Linked DNA regions of Homo sapiens: region 1 is linked to region 2. Evidence: promoter capture Hi-C in 16 types of primary human blood cells and fetal thymus (Javierre and others, 2016). All regions are on one chromosome and are shown on one strand. The core of a region is centred on a gene start or on the middle of the fragment in contact, and the rest is flanking DNA. Distances in the headings are between cores, read along the strand shown.

What was found. Contacts are between HindIII fragments. The CHiCAGO score rates a contact against its expected background, and 5 or more counts as called.
Region 1: a fragment that was not itself captured here is called in contact with the fragment with the promoter of HEBP1 in region 2 in 4 of 17 cell types (total B cells, fetal thymus, neutrophils and 1 more); the score reaches 8.0 in total B cells.

The regions. Positions count from the first base shown.
Region 1 is chr12:12,370,798-12,374,894 of GRCh38, forward strand. All of the region lies in intron 2 of BORCS5 (BLOC-1 related complex subunit 5), which reads left to right. Among named protein-coding and RNA genes, the nearest start is that of BORCS5, 16 kb to the left of the region's middle. The HindIII fragment of the contact is 9,315 bases long and covers 1-4,097 here.
Region 2 is chr12:12,998,908-13,002,622 of GRCh38, forward strand. HEBP1 (heme binding protein 1) reads right to left here and starts at 1,358. Exons shown (of 4, transcript NM_015987.5): 1 at 1,130-1,358. The coding sequence starts at 1,207. The region is part of intron 2 of GPRC5D-AS1 (GPRC5D and HEBP1 antisense RNA 1); the gene reads left to right. It also overlaps the pseudogene HTR7P1. RefSeq lists silencers at 1,223-1,372, 1,423-1,542, 2,303-2,452 and an enhancer at 2,877-3,422. The HindIII fragment of the contact is 1,773 bases long and covers 443-2,215 here.

The sequences.
Region 1 (4,097 bases), core at 139-2,638, 630 kb before region 2:
GAGTGCAGTGGTGCGATCTTGGCTCACTGCAAGCTCTGCCTCCTGGGTTCACGCCATTCTCCTGCCTCAGCCTGCCGAGTAGCTGGGACTACAGGCGCCCACCATCATGCCCAGCTAATTTTTCTGTATTTTTAGCAGAGACGGGATTTCACTGTGTTAGCCAGGGTGGTCTCGATCTCCTGACCTTGTGATCCGCCCACCTCGGCCTCCCAAAGTGCTGGGATTACAGGCGTGAGCCACTGCGCCTGGCCTACTGTGTCCTTTTAACATATTCCCCTTATACTTTGAAAATGTCTTTATTTTCTGGCACAATATAATGTTCCAGACTTATTTTGTTCTTCCATGTCTCCAGCTCTAGAATCGGGTATTTCTTAAAGGAACCCTGGTTCTTTTAGTGAAGGGTCTTATTTAGAATCCATTTCTGGACCTTCTCAGAAGATTTAGCTAGGGAATCCATAGATACACACCCACACATTTACACCTATGTTTATTTTTTATATGTTCGTGTATTTGGCAACACGATCTTGCCCTTTCACCCTGGCTGGAGTGCAGTGGCACAATCACGGCTCACTGCAGCTTTGACCTCCTGGGCTCAAGGAATCCTCCTACCTCAGCCTCCTGAGCAGCTGGGACTACTCTGCGTGCCACCACGCCCAACTAATCTTTTTGTATTTTTTGTAGAGATGGGGTTTCCCAATGTTGCCTAGGCTAGTCTCAAACTCCTGGGCACAAGCGATCCACCTGCCTCAGCCTCCCAAAGTGCTGGGATTGCAGGCATGAGCCACCATGCCTGGCCTATATTTTCTATATATTGAAAATGACAAGTTCACACTAATATGTTCTCTATGTTCTTTGATCTGCAGGTTTGTACTTTTAATCGAAAACTTTGGTCATTATGTCTTCCAATATTTTTCTGCTCCCCCCACCTGCTTTTTGTGGGACGCCAATTCGATGTTAGACCGCTTGATATTTTCTTACACATCACTGACACACCTTTCAATTTTTATTTTTAGTCTTTTCCTTTCTGTCCTTACTTTGGATAATTTTTACTGCTGTGTTTCCATGTTCAGTGGTCTTTTTTTCTGTCATGTCTGTACTGCTTTTAATCTCATCCAAGGTGTTCTTAATTTCAGATGCTGGTATTTTTCAGCTTTAGATTCTCCCCCTTAAATGTCTTTGATCTCTCTGCTTATCATGCTTATGTTTTCCTCTACTTTTTGAACGTATGAGTACTTCAATTTTATTTTAATTTTATTTTTAAGAGGGAGTTTCGCCCTTGTCGCCCAGGCTGGAGTGCAATGGCACGATGTCAGCTCACTGCAACCTCTGCCTCTAGGGTTCAAGCAATTCTCATGCCTTAGTCTCCTGAGTAGCTGGGATTTCAGCCACCCGCCACCATGCCCAGCTAATTTCTGTACTTTTAGTAGAGACGGGGTTTCGCCATGTTGGCCAGGCTGGTCTTGAACTCCTGACCTCAGGTGATCCACCTGCCTCGGCTTCCTAAAGTGCTGGGAGTAGAGTGCATTTCTTTTAAAATTTACTTACTAATTTTTTTTTTCCTTTTAGAGACAGGATCTCGCTCTGTTGCCCAGGCTAGAGTGCAGTGGCACCACCGTGGCTCACTGCAGCCTCAACCCCCCTGGGCTCAAGCAAACCGCCTGCTTCAGTCCACCAAATTGTTGGGATTACAGGCATGCACCACCACACCTGGCCTGGATTTCATTTTATTCCTTTAAGGATACCAGACTTTATTCTGGCATATACATATGGTTAAGTTACTTGTAGTCATTTGGACCCTTCCCATGTTTTCTTTTAAATACCGTTGGGGCTCATCTAGTGCAGTCTTTGCCTAGTTTAATTTCATCTCACTACTAAGGTGAAATCCTTCTGAGTACTCTACCTGTTGCCTTATGTATTATGAAGTCTCTCCACTGTGGCTAATGGGAACATGAGCTCTTCAGAAAATATTTGGCCTACTGCTTCTCTCTAGTTTTCTCCAGTCTCTGGAATTTCACCTTACAAATTTACAGATGATGTTTTCAGAGATTTAAGGGTACCCTGTGCAGATCTCAAGGCTGCCCCCTTCTCTCCCATATTCTGTTGTGTAAATCCTACCCACTTTAGTTTCTGCAAACTTTGCTCTCTCTCTAACTCAGTGAGGCTGCTGGGCTTTTTTTGATGTCCATTCTGCTATGGACTGAATGATTATGTCTCCCCCCAATTCACAGGTTGAAATTGTAATCCCCAATATGCTGTATTAGGAGATGGGGCCTTGGGAAGTGATTTGATCATGAGGGTGGAGCCCTCATGTCATGGGAGTCACGCCCTTACAAGAAGAGAGGGGAGAGAGGTTCCTTCTTCCTTCTGTTCTTAGCCATGTGAGGACACAAGGAGAAGACAGCCATTTGCAAACCAGGAAGAGTGCCCTCACCAAATATCCAATGTGCTAGCACCTAAATCTTGTACTTCCCAGCCTCCAGAACTGTGAGAAATAAATGTATGTTGTTTAAGCCATCCAGTTTATGGTATTCTTGTTGTAGCAGCCTGTACCGACCAAGACACCTCCCTGGTCTGCCTCTTGGAAACTGCCTTTAGGTAATAAGCTGGGAAAATGGTAGGGCTTGTTTTCCTTCTTTCAGGGATCAAAGTCCTGTGCTGCCTGTTATACAGTATCGGAAATGAGTGTTTCATATATTTTTGTCTGGTTTTCTAGTTGTTTATTATTGCATAATAGCAGTTAATCCTTCATGTGCAGAGGCAGAAATCCTTAAAAAAATGCTTTTTAATCCATATTTTTCTGTCCGATACCAGTTTTTCCATTTTACTTATAAGACCCTCCTGCCAACAGCCTTTAATTGGTCATTCATTTCTGCAACATATTGATAAGCACCTGCTAAGTGCCTGATGTGGTCAGACAGTGCAGGTACAAAAAATAGAAGACATAGTTGCTGCCCTTTAGGACCTTATTGTTTTGTGAGCGATTTAGACAGGTAAGTATTCACAATAATATCATATTAGTAACACTGGCCACATGTCCCAAAGAGTAGATAAACATGGAGGAGATAATTATTAATTTGGCCTGGGAATTTGGGGCAGGCTTCCTAGAGGAAGTAGAATTCAGCTGAGCTTTGAGGGATGAATAGCAGGTAGCTACATAGAGAAGGCAGGGTTGCAGAGAGTATTCTTTTTTTTTTTTTTTTTTTTTTTTGAGACGGAGTCTCGCTCTGTCGCCCAGGCTTGAGTGCAGTGGTGCAATCTCGGCTCACTGCAAGCTCTGCCTCCCGGGTTCACGCCATTCTCCTGCCTTAGCCTCCCGAGTAGCTGGGACTACAGGTGCCCGCCACCACGTCTGGCTAATTTTTTTTTTGTATTTTTAGTAGAGATGGGGTTTCACTGTGTTAGCCAGGATGGTCTCGATCTCCTGACCTCGTGATCCGCCCGCCTCAGCCTCCCAAAGTGCTGGGATTGCAGGTGTGAGCCACCGCACCCGGCCAAGGGTATTCTTAGTTTAAAAGTCTTCTATATATATTTTAAAACATATTTAAAAGATGCTGGCCAGTCACAGTGGCTCATGCTTCTAATTCCAGCACTTTGGGAGGCCGAGGTGGGAGGATTACTTGAGCCCAGAAGTTTGAGACCAGCCTGAACAACATGGTGAGACCCTGTCTGTACTACAGAAAAAAAAAAAAAAGTTTATCTAGGTGTGGTGGTGTGCACCTGTACTCCCAGCTACTTGGGAGGCTGAAGTGGGAGGATCACTTGACCCTGGGAGGTCGAGCGGTGTTCATAGCGCTGTACTCCAGCCTGGGTGGCAGAATGAGACCCTGTCTCAAATAAAATAAAATAAAATAAAAGATGCCAAAAAGAATTCTTAACCAGGTCGGGCACTGTAGTTCATGCCTGTAATGCCAGCACTTTGGGAGGCTGAGGTGGGTGGATCACTTGAGGTCAGGAGTTTGAGACCACCCTGGCCAACATGGTGAAACCCCATCTCCACTAAAGACAAAAAAATTAACCGGGCGTGGTGGCGCACAGCTGTAATCAGCTACTGGGGAGGCTGAGGTGGGACAATCGTTTGAATGCAGGAGGCAGAGGTT
Region 2 (3,715 bases), core at 108-2,607:
TCATTCTGTATTCTAGGTACCCAACTCCAGAGGATCTAACTGGCCAAAAGCAATGGTACAGCTCTGGGCCTTTGTGCATGCTCTTCTCTGTTGTGTGCACTCCTACACATCCCTGAGGCCCCAGCTCAGGACACTCCACTGAGGTCCCCATCATAGCCCCCTGGCAGAATTGACTGCCTCTGTGCTCCCTGCGTAGCGCATTTATATCTATTCTGCACAGATCTTGTTCTTTTACACAGTAGTCCCCCTTATCTATAGTAGATACCTTCCAAGCCCCCCAGTGGATACCTGAAACGGTGGACAAAACTGAACCCTGTATCTACTACGTTTTTTCCTATACATACATACCTATGATATAGTTTAACTTTATCAATTAGGCACAGTAAGAGATGAACAACAATAATAAAATAACAGCAATTATAACAATATGCCAGCATTGCTAAGCTTGCACTTTGGGGCCATTACTAAGTAAAATAAGGGTTACTTCAATACCGCCACGGTCGATCCGATCACCAAGCTAGCTACTAAGTGACTAAGGGCGGCTACTAGAGATAGGAGGCTGACCTTGGACAAAGGGGCATTCCGGTCCCAGGAATCAAGATTTCATCCTGCTACGCAGAATGGCCGGAAACTTAAAACTTAGGACTTCTGTATTTCTGGAATTTTCCATTTAATAGTTATGGACAAGAGCTGACCACAGGTAACTGAAATCGCGGATAAAGGGGGCTACTATCCGCAGTTCTCTAGTACTTGGGAGTTTCTTGCGACACTCATTTCTGCAACCGAGTGTCTCTCAACAAATCAAACTGTTCGGAATGTTTGGAATATTTTAAACGAAAGAATGCATTCAACAGGCAGTGCCCAACTCCCCAAGTTGGGATTCTCTCCTTGGATCAGTCTCTCCTGTTTACCCCCCTCCTCTCACCACCGGCTGCAGGGGGACCTCTCACTCCTTTCCTTCCCAGTCCAAATGCTGGGCGGTGGAGAGCCGCACTCGCGACAGACACCAGAACGCACCTTCGATAGCACATTCCTGCCCCACCTGCCCCTCAGCACCCGCTGCAGCCCCGACGAGGGTGGGGGTGGGAGGCAGCAATCCTTCAGGTCCTCGGCAGCCCTGCGGGCCTACCTTGTCCCCTTTGCTTAGGACCTGCCAAGGCCACGTCTCTACGCTTCCGAACAGCGAGTTCTTGATCATGCCCAACATGTTGTAGCCGAGACGCTCCCGACGCACGGGAGGACGTGAGGTGGCGGGGGCGACGGAGCACCACGGGCAGCGACCACCGGCGGCAGGGCGGCAGGGCGGCAGGGCGGCAGGGCGGCAGGGTGGCAGGGCGGCAAGGCGGCGGGACGGCGAGGCGGCGAGGCGAGAGGCGGGGCTAGAGGCAGGGGCCAGAGGGCGTGGCTAGAGGGCGGGGCGGCAATTCAGCCCGGCGGTGAGGCAAGGGGGCGGGACGGCGAGGTGAAGGGGCGGAGAGAGAGGGCGGGGCGGCGAGGCGAGGGGGCGGAGAGAGGGCGGGTCAGTGATGCGAAGGGCGGGCAGCAGGGCAGCAGTGCAGCAGTGCAGCAGTGCGGTGAGGCGAGGGTGCGAGGCGGCTAAGCAAGGGATGGGCCCGCCGTGGCGAGCCGCTGGGCCGTGTTCCGCCTCCTTTCGGGCTTTCCGCGGGTGTCTGGGGAGGGAACCCGGCCGCGGGCCTCAGGCCGTCCCCCTCCGCAGACCCCTTCTCTTATTCTGAGTCTAACCTATCCGCTGGGGCCCTGGAAAGCGATTCTCGCCTGGAGTGGCTTTAGGCAGCGGTGGTGGGGAACGTCCTCTCTCAGGTGCCTGGGCTCCAACCTCCGAGCCCCGGGTTGCTCACGCTTCTCCGGTCCTCTACCCGAAGGCTCGATCCCGCTGGTACAGCGGCGGCCAGGCTCCCTGTCTTGGTAGCTGTCCCTCTACCCCCGCCCCATGACCTCTTCTAGACCATTGAAAGAGCATCCAAACCACTTTCCTGCTGCCACTCTTTCCTACCATCCCTCTAAATCACAGTTTCCAGGTGACTTTTCTAAGCATGGCTTTTCTCGTTCACTCCTGTTCAAAAATCTTCTCACCAATTTTGTCACCATTTACTCAGCTGAGTGCCTGCTTTCTGTCAAGTATTTTACCAATAAATCTCTACTCCACACCACCGACAAGAAATATTTTGGAGCCATTTAAAAAGGAGGAAACGGAAGCTTCTGCCGCTGCCTGATCCTCCATTGCTCCGAGCCGCGCGGGTGCAGCGGGCTGTGGAGCCGCGGGCCGAGCCCCGCCGGAGCGCCCGAGAGCCCGCGCGTCCCGGGCGTCCGTCGGGGTCCGAGGTCCCTCCCTCAGGGAGTCCCCGCTCGGCAGCGCTCTCGCGTTTCACGCAGCGGCCGGGGATCTGGGACAGGCGGGGCCCCGAGGCCGAGCCTGGCGCTGCCCAGCGGCCGGTGCAGGCCTCAAGCTGGGCCGGGCGGAGGGGAACCGGCGAGTTGAAGCCCCGGGGCCGAAAGCCGGAGCCTGTGGCGGCCGCGGGGGTGGGGAGGGGGGTGGGGCGGCTTCTTGGGCAGCGCCACACGGCGGCGCAGTGATGGATGTTAACAGCAGCGGCCACCCGGACCTCTACGGGCGCCTCTGCTCTTTCCTCCTGCCGGAGGTGGGGGGCAGGCTGCCCGACCTGAGCCCCGACGGTGGCGCCGAACCGGTCGCGGTCTCCGGGACGCCGCATCTGCTGAGCGGGGGCCCCCGAGGTGACGGCCAGCCCGGCGCCCACCTGGGACGCAACCCCGGGCAATGCCTCCGGCCGCGGGGAGCAAATCAAGAAAGGGCCGAGAAAGTTGTGATCGGCTCTGTCCTGACGCTCATCTCTCTGCGATCGCGGGCAACTGCCTGGTGGTATCTCCGTGTGCTTCGTCAAGAAGCTCCGCCAGCCCTCCAACTACCTGATCGTGTCCATGGCGCTGGCCAACCTCTCGGTGGCCATGGCGGTCATGCCCTTCATCAGTGTCACCGACCTCATCGGGGGCAAGTGGATCTTTGGACACTTTTTCTGTAACGTCTTCTCCATGAATGTCATGTGCTGCACGGCCTGGATCTTGACCTTGTACGTGATCAGCATCGACAGGTACCTTGGGATCATGAAGCCTCTCACGTACCCTATGAGGCAGAAGGGGAAATGCATGACGAAGATGATTCTTTCTGTCTGCCTTCTTTCCGCCTTTGTCACTTTACCTACCATTTTTGGTCGGGCTCAGAATGTAAACGATGATAAGGTGTGCTTGGTCAGTCAAGACTTTGGCTACACGATTTACTCCACCGCAGTGGCATCCTAATCCCCATGTGCGTCATGCTTTTCATGTACTAACAGATTTACAAGGCCGCCAGGAAAAGCGCGGCCTAACACAGGTTACCTGGCTTCCCTCGAGTGGAGCCAGACAGCAGTAGTCACCCTGAATGGCACAGTGAAGTTCCAGGAGGTGGAAGAGTGTGCAAACCTTTCGAGACTCCTCAAGCATGAAAGGAAAAAATATCTCCATCTTTAAGCGGAAACAGAAAGCAGCGACTACCTTGGGGATCATCGTCTGGGCCTCCACCATGTGCTGGCCGCCCTTTTTCCTCCTGACAGCCAGACCCTTCTGTCTATGGCACTGCCTGCAGCTGCATCCCACTGTGGGTGGAGAGGATATTTCCATGGCTGGGCTATGCAAACTC